2 separate regions of the Homo sapiens genome follow, and region 2 is linked to region 1. The links are contacts of gene promoters, found by promoter capture Hi-C in blood cells and fetal thymus (Javierre and others, 2016). All regions are on one chromosome and are shown on one strand. The core of a region is centred on a gene start or on the middle of the fragment in contact, and the rest is flanking DNA. Distances in the headings are between cores, read along the strand shown.

Region 1 (5,786 bases), core at 1,316-3,815:
GCTAGAATCAGGGTTTAACATTTTCACCCATATTCAGGAAAATTGAATATTTAGGTTTGCAAGTGACACTAAGCCCTTCTGGAGAGTGAAATGTCAAGTTGTCAGAAATAGAGCATAGAAATTTCACAAGGTGGTGTGAATTGGAAGAGATAAAGCGGACAAGCCTGAGGTCATTTCTACAATGGACTTGGAGTTATCATTTCCGAGATCCAGAAATTAATGTAAAGACATCACCAGCTTCACATATTGCCTGCAGGCAGAGAAAAAATAGGCAAAGACCCAGACGCTGTCAGGAAGAGCATCACAAACCAGAGAAAACATTACCTCTTGCCTAAACTACACTGCCGAGAATTAAGCTTGAAGCTGTTTCTACTGCATGCCAAGAAACAAGGCTTCTGAAAGAGGCATCAAGAGAGTAGACAGCACAGGACAGAGAGGGATTTTAATTGGTAGAGTCTGGGGATAGGAGAGAAGCCAGGAAGACAGAGGCTGGAAAGACCTGGACAAGGGTATTCAAGTATCCAAAAGTAGGAGGAGAGTGGATACTGATCTGCTCACAAGGAAACCTTAACTTGGACCAAATATTTTAAAAAGAGTCCCTGCCTCACAGTGTGAGCAATTTATGTGACTTGATGCCCTAAGAAATAAAAACAAACATTGGTTCAAAGAGTATAGATGAATTTACAGGTGAAAGCTCCCAGGCTATGAGGGAGGTTCATTCCTGACCATTGGTGGCTGGTGACCTAGACAATAATTATCCTTTTTTTTTTTTTTTTTTTGAGACAGTCTCACTTTGTCACCCGGTCTGGAGTGTAGTGGTGCAATCTTGGCTCACTGCAACCTCTGCCTCCTGGGTTCAAGTGATTCTCCTGCCTCAGTCTCACGAGTAGCTGGGATTACAGGCACGTGCCACTACGCTTGGCTAATTTTTTTTTTTTTTTTTTTTTGTATTTAGTAGAGATGGGGTTTCACCATGTTAGCCAGGCTGGTCTCGAACTCTTGAGCTCAGGTGATCTGCCCGCCTCCGCCTCCCAAAGTGCTGGGATTACTGGCATGAGCCAATGCACCCGGCCTCCTATTGCTTTTTCCAAAGAAACATCACTGTCACTGTTGTCAAGAGACTCTATCTATCTATCATCTATCTATCTATCTATCTATCTATCTATCTATCTATCTGTCATCTGTCTATCAGTTTTTCTGCACTTTGCTTGTTTGACTTAATACATCAATATGTAAGATGCTTCATCAATCCTTTCTATATTTACTTATTATTCCAGTGCATGAATGTATTATTTATTTAACCAGGGACAGCACTTTCAACCATCTTTTTCATCAACAGTAACAGACTAAATGGCATATGTAAAAAGTTAGAAAAGGAAAGTTTTCTCCAGGCAAAAAGAAAATATAATCTAAAACAAAAATTTTTTTAAAAAACTGACTCTTTTTAATTACCCAATTCAATTAAAAAGCCTTTCAAGTCTATCCTGAAAGCTACAACTCAGTGCCATAGTTTATTTGCAAGACCTTTGCTAGAGTTAGAGGGGAGGCCAACATGATAGACCTAATTCCAGATACAAGGTAAGTCTTTGCCTGGAGTGGGGGGATAGGAGAATGATATTCCCACAAAACCAAGGCAATGCCTCTACTGTTCAATTTGCTCTCCTGCTTGTAAAGCCTCTGGCACACATTAAGGATTTGATCTATTATTATTACTTCTCCTGTAGTCATTTCTGTAAGTCCAAATATACTCAAATCACTTTACTCATAACCAGGAAAAATGTTTAGTTTGCTGCTTCCAATGGCTTTTTAATGACACCCCCTGTTTCTTCCCTTCATTAAAGCCGCATTATTTATCATACTGGCATTCTTGCTATAAACCACCGACGACCTTGCCAATCGACATCATTACATTGTCTTTTGAGAACCCTACAATTCCCATCATGGACTCATTTACTCTTCTTTCCTTAAATCTTTCCTAAGTCACCAGGGTCATTATCCTGAACCCTTTTAATCTTTGTTCAACTATTGATTGTCACATATTTTTCCTTATTCCAACTTATAAGGCTAATATACCGACTATAAAAATTTAAAAATAAGTTATTTTACTTGGCAAGCTCTCGCTTCTCATCTTCTATGGCTCTGATGGCTTTCCTCTCCAAACTTCTGAGAGATGGTCGCAGACAGTAAAGCTTATAATCACACAGGCAACATGGGTAGAGATCACACAGGCCGCAAGAGCGTGATCGCTTGGAATAGCACAAGCAGTACGGATATGGGTGCAAGTCACAGCAGCAATAGGGGTGCATATACAAGTCGCACAGGCACCGTGTGCTAAATTCGTCGATGCATCTCAGTTGCCTTAGTTCTCTGTCCACCTTCTTTATGTCCCTTCTGACACTGTCCAAGAGACAACTCAGTGCAGCCATTATGGTCACACCTGATTGTTCTGTGAGTACCTTTGGGAAATGGCACTCCGGGAAAAAATTTGTTCTAAGCCCTTCTCAGAAGTTGCTTTTAAAAATAAATGAGGCACACATGATTCACTTACTTTAAAGCTTGTGTTCTATGACCTCACCACCTTCTGAAGTATGTCATAGTCTTCTGGTTACCATGTGAACTGTACACAGTCATGGTCTCCAGAGACCATCCTCAGAGTTACAGAGCTACTCTCAGAACCATACTCGTGTTGAGATTTCACTCACCTTCAAGGAGGATGGGTCTCCCAAGCGAGCATAGCTCATCGGGGTGCATGGGGCTGGCCACTAACATCCTTGCCTTGTGTGTGCTCTGGGGACCAGCCATGGCTATGACTGTGTGTTTGTTGAACTTGGTGCAGGCGAAGGCAGGAGCTGCCCACGCCTTTCTCCATGACCTTCTAGCTCTAGCCTTGATTGGAAGCTTGGCCTTGCTCCTTTTGTTCTAGAATTCATTCTGTCTCCAGACAGGTAGAATATAAAGAATGTTCTCATCATTCTCCTCCTACCAAGTCATCCTCAAGTCAGCCATTGTCCTTGACCTTCTGAGTTACAAGTCTCTGAGTCCTGCCCATTCTGCGCCAGCTGTGGTCATGGCTGTTCGGGAACCTCATTTCTCTACTGGTTGGGGGTCCTGTCCTTAAGCTCCCATCTGTCAGTCCTCGGGGGCCTGTCCTGGGGAACTACCTCCCATCAACTACACCTTTGGTCTTGCATCCAAGCCTCCGGATGTCTTGTCCCTGAGTGCTTCCCAAATGTTGGTCTTTGATGTTCTTGTAGCCAACCGCCTGAAGATGCTGGAAGCCAACTGCCTGAAACCCCCGCTTCGGCCAGTTTCCTTTACTTTCTGTTCAGTTAACATCCTAGACCTCTGATTCGGCCTCAGATTTGGCTCTCGGTGCCTCTACTCCTCTGGTCCTTTCACCTCAAACTGCGGTCCAGCTCTCGAGTCTCCCTTGTATGAACTAGAGCTCAGGTATTGATGACAAGTGGTTGGATGTGACACTGGTGAGGGAGACAAGGGCCAGGTTTGAAGGGACCTGTAGCCAGACTAAGGACTCTGAACTTTATTTTGAGCCCAACGAAGGATTGTTGATTTTCTTTTCTTTTGTCAGAAGTGAGACAGCCACACTGAAGGTAAGTTGCTAGGGACAATAGTAGTGGGGTTTTCTGCTGCAAGACAAGAAGAGACAACAAAAATCTGGACTGGGGATCATGGCTATGGGGATGGCAAGGAGGAAGCCAATGGGAAAGCCTTCCCCCACCTCTGCCCAGGCCCCATCTAATCCATTTTCCACATTGTAGCCACAGCGACTTTCATATAGAAATCTGTCATTCCTCAACCTTCCCCACCCATCATCCCACTCACCTTAAAAGTCTTCTCTGTCCTCTCAAAAAAAGGACCAAAATCTTTACCAGGTGCTGAGCAATGGGGCCTCTCCCACTTCCCCACTCTCCTCTCCCATCCTAGTATTATTGCAATTCATTACCCCTCAGCCACGATGGCCTTCCTGGAAGACCACTCACTTTCCAGAGGCCGTTCCTTAGTCCCTTGAAGGACATTCCTCATTCCTTCCACCTCATTCAGAGCTCATACACAGGACGTTCTGCCTGCTTAGAAATTGAACTCCCCACCTATGACTTTCATCCATTTAATTCTTAAGGCACCCTTTAGATCTCCCCCTTTCTTGGGGAAGCCTTCTCTGTCTCCCAGACTAAACACTCTCTTAACTTAGGATACATTTCCTTCATGATATTGTTTCCCCAGCTGGACTGTAAGCCACGAGGGCAAGGACCTTGTCTATTTTTGCTTCGCAGTAGATACCTAACACAATGCCTGGCACATAGCAGGTGCTTGAAATGTACTCACTGAATGACCATCTGGGTGAATTCAACAGGATTTAGTGAACAGAGTGAGGATGGAGTGAGGGAGGAATCAGTGGTGACTTCCAGCTTTCAAGCTTGGCAGACTCTTGGTGCCACTGAGATAAAAATAACACAGGGAGAAGAGTAAGTTTGGGGATTTGGTGAACAGGTGGTGCTGGTGACAACTTTAAGGTAGAAATCTGGAGTATTCTGTGGATAAGAGGGTCTGGAATTTGAGGAAAGCCTGGGCTAGAGATATAAATTAGGAAGCCACAATTCCATAGGTAGTTGGAACCCTGGAAACAGGCAAGATAATTCAGAATTTAAAAAGAGAGCTGAAGCCGACTCCCAGGGAAAAATAAGTAGAAATGAGGAGAGTGAAGGAGTCCATGAAAGGCTCATAGAAGGAGTAACAGAGGGCGACAGCCCCCTCAGCTGGAGTCCCTTGGGAGTCACTAGACCAAGCATGGCATTCCCAATGGCTCGATGTTCCCCAGCCTTGACTTAGGAGGCCCTTTTCTGTGCAGATAATGTGTCTTAGCAAACAAGTGTCCCTAGAGGCATTAGAATGAGAGGCTGGCCCCTTGAGTCACGTGGAATGAGTCAAAAAGCAAAGCTGAATGATTCTCCTCTATGGACAAATTCTGACCTCTTTAAAAGTGATTCCACTGTGATTTGATTCTGAGGGGTGGACCCTATTAATAGAAATATGGCCTACTCTTTCCTGAGAGTTAATTGCAGGAGTTGTACAGATTTCTCTAGCTCCAGGTGACAGAGAATTCTTATATCACCTTGAATTCTATCCCTTAGCAAATGTCAGCAAAGATTGAAGCAGGCAAGCTCTCAGTTTAATATTATTATATACACAAGTTCAGGTGCCTAAATACACACATCTGTGTATACATGGTACATTATTAAGATGGGTATAGCTATATTTCAACTAGGATTCTCCCATTATCCCACCTTCCTAGTGATTTTTCTTTTTTTATTTTGAGACAGGGTCTTACTCTGTCACCCAGGCTGGAGCACAGTGGCATGTGCTCTCTGCAGCCTTGACCTCCTGAGCTCAGGTGAGCCTCCCACCTCAGCCTCCCCAGTAGCTGGGGCTATAGCCATGCACTACCATGCCTGCCTAACTTTTGTATTTTTTGTAGAAATGGGGTCTCACCATGTTGCCCAGCCTGGTCTCAAACTCCTGGGCTCAAGCCATCTGCTCACCTTGGCCTCCCAAAGTGCTGGGATTACAGGCATGAGTCACCACTCCTGTCCCTTCCTAGTGATTTTACTCTTCATCATGAAGTATATTCTTATCATTTTAAGTGACTAAATAAAGGTAGTGTCTTCTTTAATGATGAGATGGAAATGTGATCTATTCATATCAGAAGGATTTTAATATGGATTCTAATATGGAACTAGGACCTTCCGTATGCAGGACTATGTCCATGG
Region 2 (5,786 bases), core at 1,677-4,176, 290 kb after region 1:
TGAGGATTCTCTGAGAGCAAGAGTGGATGAGGCCATGGAACTCATTATTGCACATGGACGGTAATGTGTACAATTGGGAAGGCATTTCAGTTTAAACATCAGCTACTTACTTTCAGTATGTGGGTGCCATCATATCTTAAAATTTATGTCATAAAGTATAAGACTTTAAATGCATTTTTATTTATTTTTTAAATGATAGCTTAAATTCCATGAATGAGACAGCTTAGTTTCTTCTCATGTATTAGAAAGGTAGGGTTTTAATAGTTACCAAGGTTATTTGGAAATTACTTGAAAGAAAGTACATCTCAAATTCACTTATCAGAATACCCTCCTGGCAAAGGCCATACATATTATACTGTGTTCTTGCCATAACCATGACATTTCTTTTAGGCTTCCTGATTTGTCTTAAAAATTCATGGAAGTTTTTGCTTTCTATTCTGTAAAGTATGAATTTAATATAAAATCTAAAAAATATCTAACAGATTACATATCCCTTTTTCCAAGGTGACAAGTAAAAGTGACTTAGGAAGATAAGGCCGGGTGCGGTGGCTCTCACCTGTAATCCCAGCACTTTGGGAGGCTGAGGCGGGCAGATTGCCTGAGGTCAGGAGTTCAAGACCAGCCTAGCCAACATGGTGAAACCGTATCTCTACTAAAAAAAAAGTTAAAAGTGGCTGGGCACGGTGGCTCATGCCTGTGATCCCAGCACTTTGGGAGGCCAAAGCGGGTGGATCACGAGGTCAGGAATTCGAAACCAGCCTGACCAACATGATGAAACCCGTCTCTACGAAAAATAGAAAAATTAGCCAGGCATGATGGTGGGCGCCTGTAATCCTAGCTGCTCGGGAGGCTGAGGCAAGAGAATAGCTTGAACCCAGGAGGGTGGAGCTTGCAGTGAGCCAAGACCATGCCATTGCACTCCAGCCTGGGCGACAGAGCGAGACTCCATCTCAAAAAATAAATAAGTAAATAAATAAATAAGCTGGGTGTGGTGGTGAGCACCTGTAATCCCAGCTACTCGAGAGGCTGAGGCAGGGAGAATTGCTTAAACCCGGGAGACAGAGGTTGCAGTGAGCTGAGATTGCGCCACTGCACTCCAGCCTATGTGACAGAGCGAGCCTCTGTCTCAAAAAAAAAGAAAAAAAAAGGGAAGATAGGTCACATTTATGCTGTAGTTTCTATCCTGGGGCTAATCTGATACCCAGTTTGAAACTTTGAAGTGTTTATTATTTTAGATGAAAAGTTGTATTTTTTTCTTCCTAATGAGTTAGGAATTTAGATTAGATACACTCCTAGAGATGTATAAGCTGGTAGGCTGGGCACTAGAGCTAAACAGCCACTTCTAGAGCCTTTTAATGGTCCAAGCCAAAGACTGTTGAGAGAACTGTATTTTCTTTGCTGATGCTCTTTTCTTCTCTGGATTTTATGTACTGTTCGTTTATTCCTCTGCCCTGTCTCTGGAGCTACTGCATACTGGTATAGCTTAGTCCATTATAGAAAAATCAAGAACAATGTACATTTTTGGTGAAAAGATTTTTGTGAGTATATGTTAAGAGTTGCGTATTTAGTCATGTTTTCTGTTGAATGCAACCAATGTACAATATTGACAGCTTTCACCTGGCTTTCTGGAGTAAACAGTGAATTTATTGGTGTTCTAGAATCATTAAATTCGCTAGAGAATTTGCTAGTGAATTTGGATTGCTTTCTGAACATTTTTCTGTTCTTCTGTAGTGCTCCCTCTGAGCATTGTAGAAGTGTTCCAGCACCCCTATGAAGACCACATTCATTTTGTCAGGGAGCCTTTAGTCCACTATCTTGAATCATACATGAAGGATCTAGTGATACACTTTTTTAAAGATTTGTATTACCAACTTCTCTGCTCATACTGCATTAGTACTAGCAGGTGCATTGGATATTTATTGACTCCAAAACTTGAATGTATTTTGTAAGTAAGTCCTTTTAAATTTAAATTATACGCTAAATTCTAGAAGTCTCCGTTATCTGGAATGTGAAAGGCTTTTTGTTTTTAGGGAAAATGGAGCTGATAGTATCCTGGATCTTGGATTAGTAGACTCCTCAGAAAAGGTACAGGTAAGGAACATTTTATTCATGTGCTGATAATCACAGAATTTAAATTACAAGGAAATTTCAATAAAGGGGATGAAAGCAGGATTTCTGAAGAAACTGTCTTTATAAATAAAATGAATGTTTACAGTAGAGAGACAGAAGCAAAGATAAATATATCGGTATTATGCATAGAATCAAATAATAAGCTTGGCTTAATTAGGGCTCAGTATAATCCCACCCATTGGTTGGCATCCATTTGAGCACAGCTTGAATTAAGCTTTACTTTGAATAAGTAACAAATTGAAGAACAGAGAGGGAAAGATGTATAGAATCCTAGGACTAATTCACCAGGTGTGGTGGCTCACGCCTGTAATCCCAGCCCTTTGGGAGACCGAGGTGGGCAGATCACGAGATCAGGAGTTCTAGGACTCCTGGGACTCATTCTTCAAAGAAGTAGCTGGTGCCAACATTGCAAAAACAAGTGACATATCATGCTATAGCATAAGGAAGCCTTTTTAGTTGGCATTGAAACAATTGCACATAGAAGGTGAGACTTCCAATTTGAACCTAAGTAGGTTGATTGCCTACTAAATTCATATTAATTTACTAAGACTCAGAGTTTTCACAACTAATTCACAATGCCCAGGATACACTCTAAAATTACTCAGCCTACAAAGAACCAGGAAAAACTGGATCCACCTCTCTCAGGAAAAGAACCAATAGATGGCAACCACGAGATGACCCACTTGTTGGAATTATCAAAGACTATCCCATGTTCTGCAAGATAATGGTGAACACTGGTGAATGGAAAGACAGAGGTTCTCAGCAGACACACACAGGAACTTCAAAAGAGAACAAAGGGAAATTTTTAGAATTAAAAGGGCAATATCTAAAAGAAAAAAATTCACAGGATGCATCAATAGCTGAATGAAGGTGTTGGAGGAAAGTGTCAGTCAGCTTGAAGATAGATGGAAATTACCCTTTCTGAAGAACAGATAGAGAAAATATTTTAAAACAAAAGGACAGTTTCAGGGAGACCTGTGGGACAACTTCAAAAGATCTAACATATATGTCACTGAAATACTCAGGGGAAGAGAAGAAATTGCTATAGAAAAAATATTTGAAGAAATAAATCATGGCTGGGCACTTCCTAAATTTGGTAAAAGACATAGATTTCCAGATTCAAGAGTCAGTGAACTCAACAGAATAAACTGAAAGAAAACTATGTCCAGATACATTATAATCAAACTTCTGTAAAATAAAGAAATGTTATTGAAAGCAGCCAAAGAATGGTTCTTTACCTATAGGGAAACAGTGATTTGAAAGAGTGGATTTCTCACTATAAAGTATGAAAGCCAAAAGTCAACAAACTCATCAAAGTGATGACAGAATTCTGTATCCAGTGAAAAGAATTTTCAGGCAATAAAGTGAAAGAAGCTTATCCGAGTTTCATTAAATGACTTTATTTTAACAACAGAGACGTTAAAGACCTAATAATACACAAGCTTTGTGTGTCACATTCTGAAAGGGCAAATTAAAAGTTCATTTACCTTTAATATTGTTATACACATATATTTAAATATTTATGTTGCTCTTCCTACCTGACTTCATTTGAATGATTTGAGAGAACCATTTCATATGTTTTGTTTTTTCAGTGAATCTTGGGGCTTACTCTCTGATATTCTCTGTTAGCAGGAAAACCGAAAGCGCCATGGCTCTAGTCGAAGTGTAGTAGATATGGATTTAGATGATACAGATGATGGTGATGACAATGCCCCTTTGTTTTACCAACCTGGGAAAAGAGGATTTTATACTCCAAGGCCTGGCAAGAACACAGAAGCAAGGTTGAATTGTTTCAGAAACATTGGCAGGTAAAAGAACTTTAATCTTGGGTTTGAATTTTTTAAAACATTTCAATTTATGAGATTTTCTAAAATATATTTGTTTTAAAATGTATGTACGCTGGGTGCGGTGGCTCACACCTGTAATCTCAGCACTTTGGGAGACTGAACTGGGAGGATCACTTGAGCCCAGGAGTTGGAGACCTGCCTGGGCAACATGGCGAAACCCTGTCTTTACTAAAAATAAAAAAATACTAGCGGGCATTGTGCTGCAATGCCTGTAGTCCCAGCTACTTGGGAGGCTGGCGTAGGAGGATGACCTGACTGTGGCACTGCACTTCAGCCTGGGTTGACAGAGTGAGACCCTGTCTCAAAAACAAAACATTCTCAGGCTGGTGTTCCTGTTTTTTTTTGTTTTGTTTTGTTTTTTGAAAAAGTGTATGTGCTGTACTTTATGCTGAATAGAAAGGAGGCTGTAGAGAATTTCTCAAAATATTAATACGTATTATGTGTGGGGGGATATATGTATTCTAGAATTATTTAAATCTTATTTCTCTGTGTTTGTTTTTAGGATTCTTGGACTATGTCTGTTACAGAATGAACTATGTCCTATCACATTGAATAGACATGTAATTAAAGTATTGCTTGGTAGAAAAGTAAGTGATTTTGATGAACCTAATTGTATTCACAATTGCAAAAATTTTCTTTTATAAAATAATCAAACGCTAGCATACTGTTTATAACATTCATTTACTATTAAATCTTAAAGCATTACAGCCATTATAAATAACTTTAAAACATTTAATTATACAATTATGGTCAACAAAAATAAAATTAATAAATTAATGACAGAAAAAGACTATGGGGAGATGGCATAGCAGAGTAGATAACACAAGTGGGGCTGGGGGGTCTGACAGACCTACGTCCTGTTGCAAACAAATATGCTGACATTTCTGCCATGTTTCCCCATTTATAAATTGGTAAGAAACACAACATCGTAAGTACCTGGCAAATAGTAAGTGATTGGTAAATTGTATCCACTATTATTAGTTGTACCTGGTGTTAGAGAAGGTAGTGGTATTGAAAAGAGCCTTCCAGGCCAGGCACGGTGGCTTATGCCTGACACCTGTAATCCCAACACTTTGGGAGGCCAAGGCAGAAGCATCTCTTGATCCCAGGAGTTTGAGACCAGCCTGGACAACGTACGAGACTCTGACTCTACCAAAAATTTTAAAAGTTAACTGCGTGTGGTGGCATGCACCTGTGGTCCCAGCTATACTTGGGAGACTGAGATAGGAGGATCTGCTTGAGCCCAGGAGTTTGAGGCTTCAGTGAGGCATGATTGCACCACTGCACTCCAGCCTGGGTGACAGAGCAAGACCCTATCTCATAAAACAAAACAAAAAAAAAATAGAGCATTCTAACTTCAAAAATACCTATAAGAGGTACATGGGGGTGGCCAAAGAATGTAAGAAGTACAACACAGCATGCTCAGTATTGATCTCTGGATGATGGAATTAGCTTATCTTTATGTGTTTTGATAGTTTGGTAGCCTGCACCTCCCTTTATGATGGCAGGGGGAAAAGAAAAACCGTTTGCTTTAAAATTAATATACAATGCTAATTATGCAGCTTTTGATTTAAAAGAAAACTACCCACGTTCCTAAAAATATTTTAGAGAAATTACTTGACACAAAACAAATGGAATAGACTAAGTGCCTTTATTTTTTTCTTTTTTTTTTTTGAGACAGTCTCACTCTGTCACCCAGGGTGGAGTGCAGTGGCACGATCTCGGCTTACCGCAACCTCCACCTCCCAGGTTTAAGTGATTCTCATGAGTTAGCCTCCCGAGTAGCTGGGATTGAGTAAGTTCTTATTG

What was found. Contacts are between HindIII fragments. The CHiCAGO score rates a contact against its expected background, and 5 or more counts as called.
Region 2: a contact is called between a fragment that was not itself captured here and the fragment with the promoter of ODF1 in region 1, in 1 of 17 cell types (endothelial precursors). The highest score is 5.2, in endothelial precursors.

Annotation. Positions count from the first base shown.
Region 1 is chr8:102,548,368-102,554,153 of GRCh38, reverse strand. ODF1 (outer dense fiber of sperm tails 1) reads right to left here and starts at 2,565. Exons shown (of 2, transcript NM_024410.4): 1 at 2,107-2,565. The coding sequence starts at 2,426. LOC124901998 (a long non-coding RNA gene) reads right to left here. Exons shown (of 3, transcript XR_007061039.1): 2 at 4,345-4,456; 3 at 3,558-3,647. It overlaps LOC105375684 (a long non-coding RNA gene), which reads left to right and starts at 3,526. Exons shown (of 2, transcript XR_928478.3): 1 at 3,526-3,611. The HindIII fragment of the contact is 343 bases long and covers 2,558-2,900 here.
Region 2 is chr8:102,263,252-102,269,037 of GRCh38, reverse strand. UBR5 (ubiquitin protein ligase E3 component n-recognin 5) reads left to right here. Exons shown (of 59, transcript NM_015902.6): 51 at 1-60; 52 at 2,031-2,091; 53 at 3,760-3,938; 54 at 4,480-4,564. Among named protein-coding and RNA genes, the nearest start is that of UBR5-DT, 27 kb to the right of the region's middle. The HindIII fragment of the contact is 1,160 bases long and covers 2,347-3,506 here.